Linked DNA regions of Homo sapiens: regions 1 and 3 are each linked to region 2. The links are contacts of gene promoters, found by promoter capture Hi-C in blood cells and fetal thymus (Javierre and others, 2016). All regions are on one chromosome and are shown on one strand. The core of a region is centred on a gene start or on the middle of the fragment in contact, and the rest is flanking DNA. Distances in the headings are between cores, read along the strand shown. Region 1 overlaps DNM3 (dynamin 3). Region 2 holds the start of DNM3OS (DNM3 opposite strand/antisense RNA). Region 3 overlaps DNM3 (dynamin 3).

Region 1 (4,213 bases), core at 586-3,085, 150 kb after region 2:
TTGATTCTGTCAAGATAATCCATCACTCTTTCTGCTCTAAAGCAAAGATACAACTTTTGAAAATTTCCAACAATAAACTTTCATGCTTGGAGAATATATTTCTTTTAAATGTGTCCCTCTTTTAATTGAAATGACTCATTCTGCTTGTTTTGGTTTATCCTTTTAAACTTGAATATCTTAGGTTTTCTATAAAAAGTTTAGCATCTGGTCAAAAATGAAAAAGGTGGTTTAAAAAATAAGCACTGTCCAAGTTTATTCCATTGTGTTTTCATTCATTTATTTGTCCATTTTCTTATTCATTCAACAAGTGTTTGTTTTATGGAGGCTATAAACCAAGGATTGGGGTAGACCCAGATTATGCCACTTATTAGTTATGTGATCTTGGGAACACCCTTTAATATCTCTGAATTTCAGTTTCCTCATCTGTGAAACAGCTTTACTACCAACTTTACAGGATTGCTATAAAGAGTAAATGAGATTATTTATCTTTTAAAATGGTAAAAAGTTAGGCCAGGTGCAGTGGCTCAAACCTGTAATCCCAGCACTTTGGAAGGCCAACACAGGAGGATCGTTTGAGCTCACAAGTTCGAGACCAGCCTAGACAATCTGGCGAAACCCCATTTCTACAAAAAATACCAAAATTAGCCAGGCTGGGACTGCAAGGCTGTAGTCCCGGCTACTTGGGAAGCTGAGGTGGAAGGATGGTTTGAGCCTGAAAGGTGGAGGTGGCAGTGAGCCAAGATCGCGCCACTGCACTACAGCCTGGGCAACAGAGCCAGACTTTGTCTCAAAAAAAAAAAAAAAAAAAGTAAAAAGTTATAAGTTTCACTTTCCCCCTTCTCTATTTATTATTTATTACTATACCCCAAAAGTCATACACAACAAAGATGGAAATCCTCAAAGACACAGAAAAGTAGAGATGTCAGTCAACGTTTGCAAGACTCATAGATTGAACTGGATTGAAAATCTATCAGTGACCAGTGAATGCTTTGCCCTGATTAAGAAAAATGAGGCCAAACAAGAAGACAACCCAAAGAAGCCTCTATGTTTCTTCACTACATCAACTTGAGAAACGTGGGCACTGTGACAACCAGAAATCCAGAGAGGCAACTTTGAACTATAAGGCCAACTCAAAAAACGAATCCAAGTAAGAATTTACAACGGGGAAGTCCAGGTAGAAGATGCCTGATGGTAAATATTTATTCAAGATAAACATGTAGAGTTCCATCTAATAAATGCTTAAATATAACAAAACTGAATACAATTAAAAGAAGGAAAAGATGTGAAAAAATTCAGAAATAATATGTCAGTATTTCTAGATAGATTAGCAAATGTCATGAAGAAAGCAGCAGAAAGTAAAAGCTTCTAAATTCTTCAAGAAGTCAGAGATTATTTTTGTATTCCTGAATTGTATGTGTATATATAAAATATACGTATATATATACAAAAGTGAATTCAAGAATGATTTTAAAAACTGAAAGATAACTGCTGAAAAATATAGAAGCCAAAAAGCCAGCTTATTTGTTAACAAAACAAAAGAAACAGTCAGCATTTAAAAACAGCAAATTGTATCTCAAAATGATAAAACTAAGGCTAAGCACACAGTCATGGCAAGATATAAACATGATTGAAACTTTCCTAATCAAAAATGATGATTTTCTGATTGAGATTAAAACCAAAACCCAATTATACTGTTGACATTTATAATAGGACTTTTAAAAAGTAAAACAAATGGAAAAAAATGTAAAAATAAAAGAAGAAACAAAGATAGGTCAGGCAAATGCAAAGAATAAGTGAAAAGACTTTGAAATACTATACAAAAATATTGTATTATATTTTTGTAATGAAATCAGAACAAAGAACTTCATTTCTATAAACATACTAAAATACTCAAAGTCCTTAGCAAGCAACCATTGATGGAGAATCACTTTTAAGTTATAAAATTAGCAAACATACTTTAAAGATGACAGTCAATATTTATGCGTATGAGATTCATTACTCAATAAATATCTATGGAATACCTACTAGTGCTGGTCACTTTGTGAGACCTTGGGGTACAGTGTAATCAAATCAAGTCATCCAAATATCCCTTTTAATTTATTAGAGGGGTTGGAGCAGAGCCACAGGGCAACATTCAGTTCACTGCCAAGATGATGCCAGCATTCAGACAAGTCTCTCCACCAAAGCACTAGTTGTGTGATTCCTTCTGGACCCCTTGGCAGATGATTTTGATTGCAGGCTCAAAGGCCAAATGGTCTGTAGCCAAGGCCCTTGGGGGACTGGGTCATTTCCAGGTTTGAACCTGGGAGCAAGCTTGGTGGATCAGCCACCTCAGTGTCATTCGATACTCTCAAAACAACCCTCCTATGTCTAGGGCTTCATCAGTGTTTCACAAACTCCTACCTGAATCCTGAGGCTCCCAGAAAGAGACTTCTGACTATACAGGGATGTGGAATTCTTGTTGCTGTAGGGGAATATTAGCAGGTGACCTTCTTTTCCACCATCCTGGTGATGTCACACCTCCCTTTCCAATTATAAGGGTTTGTTTCGTGCTATTCAATAAGATATTATCATTTCCTTAATTTAAAAAAATTCATTTCTATGTATTTTAAAGGCTCTGCTCCTAATGTGAATGGAGTCTTTTCCCATTTCCTAAGTTATTTGTAGTACTGAGAAAAGCAATTGATTTGTATATTTTCATCTTGCAGTTAATGTTAGCCTTTTAAACATAGCATCTTGGCCGGGCACAGTGGCTCACGCCTGTAATCCTAGCACTTTGGGAGGCCAAGGCGGACTGATCACCTGAGGTCAGGAGTTCGAGACTAGCCTGGCCAACAATGTGAAATCCCATCTAGACTAAAGATGCAAAACTCAGCTGGGCCTTGTGGCATGTTCCTGTAATCACAGCTACTTGGGAGGCTGAGGCAGGAGAATCGCTTGAACCTGGGAGGCGGAGGCTCCAGTGAGCCAAGATCATGCCACTGCACTCCAGCCGGGGCAACAGAGCAAAACTCCATCTCAAAAAAAAAAAAAAAAAATAGCATCTTATTAATTTTGGTAGTGTTTTGTTAAATACTAACACTTGGATTTTTCAATTCTTCTTGAGTTAATTTTGGTAATTTGTATTTTTAAAGGTATTGTTAATTTATTCTAGATTCTTAATTTTTTGCCATAGGGTTGCATATAATATTTTAATTTTTTCAACCTCTTCTATATTTGTGGTCATTATCCTATTGTTTCTCATTTGCAATCTTGTATACTTTTGTTTTCTCCCATTTCCCCCCTTAATTAGGATTGTAAGTGTATTATCTACTGGTAAAGGGAAAATACTTGTGGATGTCCTTAACCTCTGTTATTTTTATATTTCCTATTTCCTTAATTTTGGCCTTAATCTGTGTTAATTCTCTTTGTTGGTTTATTTTATTTTTTAAAAATCATTTTATAATTTATCTAGATGAATACCAACCTTCTTTTCTAAATGATGAGCATATTTAAGGTTATACATTTTCCTACAGCCTTTGCTCCTTTGGATATGAAGCGTTTATATCTTTATTGCTTTCTAAATAATTTTTACTTTTGGTTTCTTCTGTCATACAAGGTTTATCTGGGAGTATGTTTCTCACATTTTTCTTTTATACTTTTTTATTAGAACTTCATATGCCTCAGTTGTATCTTTTCTCATTAATTCCACCTGATTGTACTTTTGATGTACATATTTGTGTCTTTCTAAATCTCAGGGAAAGCTTCTTTTTAAAAAAATATGTCTTTTATAATTGTTTTTCTCCTTCTATCTTCCTTTTCTTTTTTTCTGGAACTCCTCTTGTTCACAAGTTAGACATTCTGGGTCTTTCCTCCACACCCTCATCATTTCTGTCCTTTTATATTTTTCCACTTCTATTAGATCTTCAAAGCTGCTAATTCTAGTCTCAACAATGATCAGCCTTTCTTGCTATTTATCTACTTAATTTTTTTAATTTAAAAATCTGACTTTTTAGTTCTAGGAAGTCTTTTTTAATGCTGTTCGTGTGCCTCTTCAAGTCCTTATTTTCTTCTGTCTTCTGCTTTCCCCAAAGGTTCTCCTTCATTGATGGACTGCTGTGATTGCTTTCCTCATTCTTTCCCTCTCTGACTGTTAGCTTCTTTAGGTATCCTTTCATTTTCATTTGTTCTTCATGGCACAAGTCCAACTGCTGGACGCTTTAAGTGGGCTGGT
Region 2 (4,381 bases), core at 1,388-3,887:
ATAGATTCCATGATCCCTAAAATATTTGTATATCTCCTTATAAAGTAATATGAAAATAAAATTAAACATTTTTCTAATTTACCTGGATATAGATATGGCTATAATGTATATAAATGTGGGCGTGTGTACCAGCGCATAAACTACAATCCTGCCTTCATTCAGCAGAGCTTTATAAAATGAGCTTTTACCTTTGATCTTTAATTTAGCCCATATAATTGAAAAATAAGTACTATTCGTTTTCATTTGTTAAAACTTTGCCTCGAAAATAAGTCGCTAGAGCCACATCAAGCATGTGCAGGAACTCCTTGGTTATCCTTTTACAAAGTAATTCTTATATTTCTACTCCTGTACTTATGCCAGAGGCACCCTTATGTCCCTTCTATCTCCAGACTAAAAGTCATCCTGAGGGAGAAAATAGGTGAGGGACCCATAGGGATTCATTTCTTTGAAACAAAAAGACCGTTTAACATGAAGAAAGAAATTGAAATTAAATATACATTAAATGAAAGCAAATTTTGAAATGTAATCATTTCTAGAGTAAAAAAAAAAAAAAAACCCAGAAAATTTGAGAAAAACATTACCAAAGTACCTTGTTAGCTATTTTTCCTCTTCAGTAATTGTATCAATTAGAAAAAATATATTTCTTGAAAAAATGAGCTCCTCTAAGTTACTTTTTTTAGTTTTCTTATGTAAAAGAAACTATATAGATTTTTAACATCTCATTTGTTCTACTAAAAATAATTAATATGGAACTCTCCAAGTCACAATAGAAAATGAAAGGATAACTTTACTATATCATCTAAGTGAAAGTAGCTAAATTTCTCCTTGCTGTTTATATTTTAACTAATAATCATGAATATATGAGAATACTTAATGTTTTCTTTATACACATTTTGGGGTGATCAGAAGGGTAATTTTTAAAGTAAGTTGTTTTGACAAAAGAAAACTTAGGGAATCTTTTATAATAAAATATTTTGCTAAAGAGAACTTGAGTCAATTTTTGAATTGTTGCAAAATGTATAACTTAGAAAAGAATTTGTTCAGGAACCACTGTAACTTTAAAGGAGGACAAAAGAGATTATGTTTATTTTTCACAAACCCTGTAGAAGAGATGTTTTCATTATATAGAATTGTTTCGGAATAGAAATTAATGGGGGTTAAGAAAATTAGGGATGAGGCAATAACATTTTTCCAGAACTTTCTTTAAGGGGCCGACCTCTAAAGTTCAGCACAGATCACATTGCAATCCAGACTTGCTCTATTATTTTCTCTATTAGGATTTCATTCAGCTTGAGGGTTTTCTTCCCTCCCACCTTCCTCCCCCTCTCCCACCCTCTTTCACCTCCAGGACAGCTGGAAACTGACCAAAGAAAACTTCTGCCTTCGTTTACAAATTCCTTTTTTATCAGTGGGTTTCTAGACAAAGTGCCTTATTTTAAATGCTCAGAGAAGTGGAAGCATTGTAAGCTATAGGCAAGAGGGCTCAGCTGAGCAGCAATTATTAACCACTCTTTGATTTAAAAAAAATGTAAAACAGATATTTACAGGGGTATCTAAAGATAGAGGTTTTTATTCCCTGATTTACTCAGTTGCTGACTCAATAAGTTGTGGGTCGGTGCTCTTCTCTGGGCAAATCCCATCTGCATTGTCTGGTAGGCAAGACTTGGCAGGTTCTTCTTTTATTGTTAGGTACTATTATTCCTGTTGTTTATATTACAGAAGGAAATCTTCAGAAAAGCACTATCCATATAGCATTTAAAAACCAGCAAGTATTCTTTACTTTGGGGAAAAATGACTTCAGTCCTGGGATGTTAAAAGTTATACATACAGCCTTCATCCATATAAGTTTTTAAATCTTTGAATTATTATTAAACAATTCAAAAGTAGCCTCATTAAACTATTCTTAAGTGTCTGGAATGAGTTTTTTCATATTTCATTTTGAAGTGGGAAAACCTTTAAGAAAACACTTGAATTATCAATCTTCAGAAATAAAAAAAAAAAAAACAGTAAATCGCTATATACCACACACTTTTGCTCTTTTAAAATTAAATACATCTCTACCCATCACACATGTACCTCTGTTTCCCTTGCATGTTAACACAAATCATGGGCTCCCCACCTAGGTTCCCTTGGTCACAGACCAGGTGAGCAGTCAAGAAGGCCTTACCCGCTGGTCTTCCCTTCGGCAGTCTTTTCTCAGCAGTGTCCCCGAGGGCTTCTTGGTCCCTAGTGTGCAAAACCTGTGAAGAAAAACACTGGATATGAGATTCAAAAAAGGAGCAAACAAATGTCTTCTCCTTGGAAACAGCCCATTTTGTCCCCAGCGGTCCATGGCGTTGCTCTCCCTTGCCCAGTCTAACCAATGTGCAGACTACTGTACAACGGCATTGTCCTGAACAGGTAGTCTGAACACTGGGGCGACGGAGCAGGATCTCCAGAAGCTTCCTTCTATGTACTTAAAATCCTCTCCCGGTCCTCAGGAAAAGCCTCCCTTCCTGCACCAGGGGTTGCATTCAGCTTTCCCCCCTGAATTCTGCTGCGCTGACTGAGACACACTCAAGGGCTGTGATTTCCAGTCTTGACGTGGCACATTTGCTGCAGACTGGGGAACTGGCAATGAATTTAGGACCAGGAAAAGGGGGAGGGCTGGGCTGGAGAGTCCATATATGGGATGATGTCACCCTGGGGAGGTTTGGGTATGCGCTGTGCCGCTGGAGAGACCGCTAGAATCGCCTGCTCTCAGACATGGGTCTGTGCATAAAATGGTACCAGATGTTTTAGTGTAACGTTAAGCAGTCATTTCATCTTCAGGCCAGATTTTTTTCCTCAACTGGGCAGGAAGTGGGCCCCAGTATGGAAAAGCTGTAAAAAAAAAAGAGTCAAGATGTACAGTTCGGCTGTGGCCAACTGAAAGTGAGTTAGTGTAGAAGTACAAATTTACTGTCTGACCCAGGCTAGAGAAGTAATTTGAAGATAGAGGGTAGATGAAATAGTAAACAGAAAGTTGAACACTGGAAGGCAGAGCTCATTTGGAAACCTTTTTGAGCTTTCCTGTGGCACTTTATTTTCTGGTATTTCACTCGTCAAAAAGGGCAGATAAGTTTCTGTCTGTCTGTCTGTCTGTCTGTCTCTCTCTCTCTCTCTCTCTCCCCCTCTTCCCCTCTCCCTCCCTCTCTCTCCCTCCCTCCCTCCTTCCCTCCCGCTCTCTCTCTCTTTCTCTCCTTCTCTCTCTCCCTCCTTCTCCTGTCTGTTGAATCTGTCAGCAGCTTGCAGGCTGCTCTAGACTTGAACAGTAATTATAGCAACTTCCTGAAAGTGAAGCCCCCATGAAAAGTCTGGAGAAATGTTCTTTGTCATGGCCTCTACATGAGTAATTAGTTCCACATGTGGCCTTCCTAGTTTCCCTCAGCTATTTTGGCTGGGTCTCTGAATGCTGTGCTATAGTTTGACCTAAAGAAACGTTACAGTTTTTGTTTGAAGCATCCACTACGAAACAACGACTCAGGTCTTCTAACAAATCGCCTCTGGTAGATCCATGCTGTTAGGTATAGCATTGTTTTTCACTTGTAATTCCTGATTCTGTTTTGATACTTTTGTTTTGTTTTCATGGTATTCTGTGGCTTAGTTTTATCTCTGGTTAACTAAATCTGTTGAAATTTGCCAAGTACCGCTTGACCAAAGGTTATAAGATATCAGCCCACTGGCATCTACTTTTCTTTCCCTGTTGTGGCTGTTTTCAATTATATATACTCTTGAATATTCTGAATATGTAGTTCTCTCACTTTCCCTCCATAGGATTCTGATCAAAGCTAGAGTCGCCTCAAACAAGAGCTTGATTAATTGCCCTTCTGAAGATCAAAATGTGAGAAAATTTCTAGGTAGCTTCCAAATTTAATTTGACCAACCAGACTAAGAAACTTAGCCTTCTTTAAAGAAAGTACAGCCAAAGCAATTCATTTCCACTGGCCTTCTGAAATACTTTTTAGAAGTAGAAAAATATATCTCTTTTTTATACGCTGCATTGTATATTTCAAAAAGCTTCAAGTGAGTACTGTCCTAAAGCATTTGCTTTTCATAAAATGGCCTCTTTTGAATCATTAAATAGCACACTACTGAAGAGTTCAAAAGTTATGACAAGCCCTTGTTATCTTGTGAGGAAGATTAAATAAGATAAACATGAATTATCTGGCATCTTAGGATGGAACAGAGGTTAGCACTGGGTACACCATTCATAGAAATATTTATATCATCAATAGGAGTCAGAGGAATGACTTTATATCTCTGTACTTTTGCTTCCATATTTGTGTCTTTAGGACCTATTCAATAGTGCTTGCACAAGCCCATAAGACTCACCTCCCTTTTTTCCCTGTCACTGCTTGCA
Region 3 (4,268 bases), core at 1,680-4,179, 230 kb after region 2:
TAGGAGTGAGAATATGCGGTGTTTGGTTTTTTGTTCTTGCGATAGTTTACTGAGAATGATGATTTCCAATTTCATCCATGTCCCTACAAACTTATATTTGATGAATTCTGCAAATAGGTGTATGATCCAGTTTTTCTTATAGCTTCTGTGATTTGGTAATCCTCCTACAGATGGTAGAATATGGTATTCACAATAATATGAAAAATATAATTAAATTTGACAAGAATTCTATTAAAACAGCAAGATTTACCATCCAGAATTATTTCATTTATTTTTAATTCATCTTTTATCTTAAACATACCACCTTGATGTTATGTGAAGCTATCTTATATGCTACCTTAAGCCATATGCATTCATTTATGAACCCTCTAAAACTATGTGTCATGCCCTTTCTATTTTATGTTTATTGCCAGGTAGTTTATAAGTGATTAAAGAATATTGCTAGAAATTATATTTAATTAGATAGATAATGTTACCATATCACTTTTGATTCATTTGGCCCCCAATGTAGTATGAAATCTTGTAATTAATTTTTTTTTTTTTTTTTTTTTTTTTTGGAAAGAGAGTCTTGCTTTGTCACCCAGGCTGAAGTGCAGTGGTGTGATCTCGGCTCACTCCCACTTCTGCCTCCCAGGCTCAAGTGATCCTCCTACCTCTGCCTCCTGAGTATCTGGAACTACGGGCATGCACCAGTATGCCTGGCTAATTTTTAAATTTTTTGTAGAGACCAGGTTTCATCATGTTGCCCAGGCTGGTCTCAAATTCATGAGCTCAAGTGATCTACCCACCTTGGCTTCCCAAAGTGTTAGGATTACAGGCACAAGCCACCATGGCCTGTGATGAGAATTTTTAAGAAAAGCCATTTTATCAAATATTTCATTTAACTAAAACACCTTTAATTCAGAAAGCATTATGTCTATTCTAAAAGTGTTTATATGGATTAAATAGACATAAACAATTGGCAGAGGAAAAAACATAGTACTCACTAACAATAGTATTTGTAGAAATTTTGAAGCCATGGTTAAAAAAAGAGAAATTTGAGGGACAATGTAAATACATGCAGTAATAATGCTTTCTTAGCAAAATTCGCATCTTTAGTCTCCTGTCACCTTATTGCTTTGTAAAGAAACATCTTGATCCCAGTCATAAAAGTCATTTAGACTTATAAACTCATTAATGTTTACTAGCAGTTGCAATCTGATTTCTTCTCCTAAACTACTTTAAAAATAGTCTAAGGAAAAAAGCTTTTAAAAACCAACATCAGCTTTATCTCTTACACCTCACGTAATACTTACAAATCTTATTAATAAAGCACTCAGGACAATCTGATACACTACAAAATTTAAAATAATACAGAATTGTTTCAAATAATAATTGCATCCTTCTATAAAATTTGCCTTAGAATAGTTTTAATTTTTATTATAAATGCAGCCATAGTTGTTGATCTTTAAGCAATCTTGACTCTCTTTGTTTTTGCCACTTTATAAAATGTAGACAAATCTGATAGCCAAGGTAAATACCAGAATTAGGGTAAAGCAAAGATAGTTTTGTTTTTTTGTACTTTACATCCTCCAGATTGTCAAACAGGCAACATACACACATTCAATTTCAGAAGAATGAGAGAGAGAAGTAACAAAAGAAAAAAAACTCCAGACCCAATGATTATTACTCCAAGAATATAGATCTTTGTCTAAGCAATCTTCTTCAGAATATTAGTAGTTATAGAACTCTCAGTATATTTTTATCATCTTCACAAAGTTATTTTTCTGTAAACTAAAGGTTTGCCTAAATTGAGATAAGCTCCTTTAAATTTTAATTTATTTTTTAGTTGGGTATGAGCATTTACAGTGACAGAAGAAGTTCTGGTTTTGGCAACTTTGGAAGTAGCTCCCCAACTTTGGGACATGTACGTGTTGTCTGTATGATGACTCAGCTGTGGTCTGGTGCTATTATCACATAATGTTCTATCTTTGAATATTGGAAACAAGAAATTTGCAACAGCTCAACCTAGCAAATTTCTTCTGATTTTGTTTTCATCTTTCCTTTCAACAAAAATTAACTTAAATTTCCTAAAACAGCCTTCAGGTCTTTTTTTAATCTTGATCATCTACTAAGGCTCTTGGGCCCTGGGAATGTCTGAGAAGGTGCACTCAGTAATTCATGTGTAGGAATAGTTGAAAAAGTTATCTTCAGGCCTTTCGGGAGTTCTGTAGTTGGATGTAGGTGACAGCTTTATCAACTACAGTATTCAGTGAACATCAGGGAAGCTTAAAACCCCTGATTATAGCTGCTTTTTTAACGGCTTCGTTTTTCTTCTGTACTCCAGAAAGAAATGATTCTACTCACAGAATTTTACAGTTGTGTGTGGTTTTTTTGGTTGCTTTAATGCTTTGTATTATTTTGTTTTTACTAAGAAGTTTTTACATGTAAAGCAAGTGTAATTGTATTTACATTGAACTTTGAAAGATTTTCTTCCTCATAATGTAAAGAAAAGGTAAATAAGATCAACTGCATACCTATGCTATTATTTTGCTATGTAGTTTATTATGACGGCCCATGCTGCTTTCATATTATTTGAATTTTATTGCCCCTGCTTTCTCTAGGACTTTATTAACTTTGATATAGTGCATCTATACTCATCCATGTAAATGATTTTGAAGAACAAAACAATTGACAGATTTTGCTTTACAATATCTGTGATTTTTGTTTCATACCTTTGTCCATCTTTCAATCTTTGTAAACAGACCTAGTTCTTTATTGCGTAGACCTTATAATCCCTTAATACCCTGATTCTAAACTGAATGAGCTTTAAAAGTGCCTGTTAAACAAATAGTATAAAGGATACAATAATTTAAAATTTCTTTACAGTTACAAGTTTTTAGGTGATGGAAGTAGAATTCCTAAAATATAGATTACTCTTGTGTCATTTTCCCCCTAATCTTTAAGTGTTATCTTCTTATAAATGAAACCACGGGGGTTTTTCTTGTGATTATAGTATTTCATTATTTGAGTATGTAAACATGATGATGATGGTGTTACAGAATTAACAGTAGCAGAGGAATCGCTCTGAGTCAAAAACAGCCTTCATCATGATCAATAGCACAATTGTTTTATGTCTGTAAGGCATTTCTCATAGGACTATATTTGGTCATCCTGGTAGCTTTTGGAAACACATGTTTTGTCTCACAGTATTTGTAGACCACTGTTGGTGGTGGGGTGAGCATCATCAACACTATCTTAACCCATACCCTTCCAGCCTCATCAAATTAGAAGTGAATGATTGGCAGTGGAGAGAGGTTTTCAGTGAAACCATTCTTGATAATGTAGGGCTGGAAAAATTCACAGGTACGTTACCATGGTAACAGTGTTTTCATCGTGATGACCTGATTTACTAAGAAAAAGTCTTCAAATAAGTCTATGACATGATTAAATAAGAGATTTAAGGAAAGGGAAAAGACAAAAACAAAACACCTGAAAGACATTCCAGTCAAGCCCAGTGCTTCTATAATAGACGCCCCAAGGTATGGTGAGAATTATTTCTGATTCAACACTTTCATTCCCTCACCTGTTAAAGTAGTAAACCTTTAAAAGAAAGCTTTTAAATTAAAATTTTCAGCTACTTGGGAGGCTGAGGCGGGACCATCGCTTAAAGCCAGGAATTTGAGATAAGCCTGGGAAACATAACAAAACCCCATCTCTAAAAAAAAAAAAAAGGCAAAATTAGCTGGGCGTGGCATGTAGTTACAGCTATATGGGAGGATCCCTTGAGTTCAGGGGTTCGAGACTGCAGTGAGCTATGATCACGCCACTGCACTTCAGCCTGGATGACAGGGCAAGACTCTGTCTCTAAAAACAAAAATAATAATAGTAGTTATAAAAATATGTTTTAAATAACTTAAAACTTTATATAACAGCCTGTTTCTTAAATACCATGCAAATAATTTCGGAGAAAGTAAGTTATGGTAATTTTTATAAATGACTTCACATTTACAATGCTGGTGTTTTTATTGGTTAAATTAGATTTCTCAATAGCTATTTTTAAAAACTGCAATAGGAAGGACTGTCTATTGTATTTTTTAGAAACAAGCTGGTTTCTACAATATTATTCACGTTTTTTAAACAGCATCATTGAACCTGCACATAAAAGGTTAAATGTTTGCAGACCATTCTTTTTTGCCTCAAAGATCAGAGACAAATTACTATTTTTATTTTACATTTCCTTGATGAGGATAATGATAAACAGCTGTCATTTCAGTGCTTCAACTGCA

What was found. Contacts are between HindIII fragments. The CHiCAGO score rates a contact against its expected background, and 5 or more counts as called.
Region 1: a contact is called between a fragment that was not itself captured here and the fragment with the promoter of DNM3OS in region 2, in 1 of 17 cell types (naive B cells). The highest score is 5.5, in naive B cells.
Region 3: a contact is called between a fragment that was not itself captured here and the fragment with the promoter of DNM3OS in region 2, in 11 of 17 cell types (naive B cells, total B cells, endothelial precursors and 8 more). The highest score is 16.2, in naive B cells.

What each region holds. Positions count from the first base shown.
Region 1 is chr1:172,294,123-172,298,335 of GRCh38, forward strand. All of the region lies in intron 15 of DNM3 (dynamin 3), which reads left to right. Among named protein-coding and RNA genes, the nearest start is that of C1orf105, 120 kb to the right of the region's middle. The HindIII fragment of the contact is 951 bases long and covers 1,361-2,311 here.
Region 2 is chr1:172,142,198-172,146,578 of GRCh38, forward strand. DNM3OS (DNM3 opposite strand/antisense RNA) reads right to left here and starts at 2,638. Exons shown (of 4, transcript NR_103486.1): 1 at 2,457-2,638; 2 at 2,168-2,240; 3 at 1-16. All of the region lies in intron 14 of DNM3 (dynamin 3), which reads left to right. MIR199A2 (microRNA 199a-2) reads right to left here and starts at 2,447; the gene lies at 2,338-2,447. The HindIII fragment of the contact is 1,597 bases long and covers 2,440-4,036 here.
Region 3 is chr1:172,372,145-172,376,412 of GRCh38, forward strand. The region is part of intron 17 of DNM3 (dynamin 3); the gene reads left to right. Among named protein-coding and RNA genes, the nearest start is that of C1orf105, 46 kb to the right of the region's middle. The HindIII fragment of the contact is 1,328 bases long and covers 2,266-3,593 here.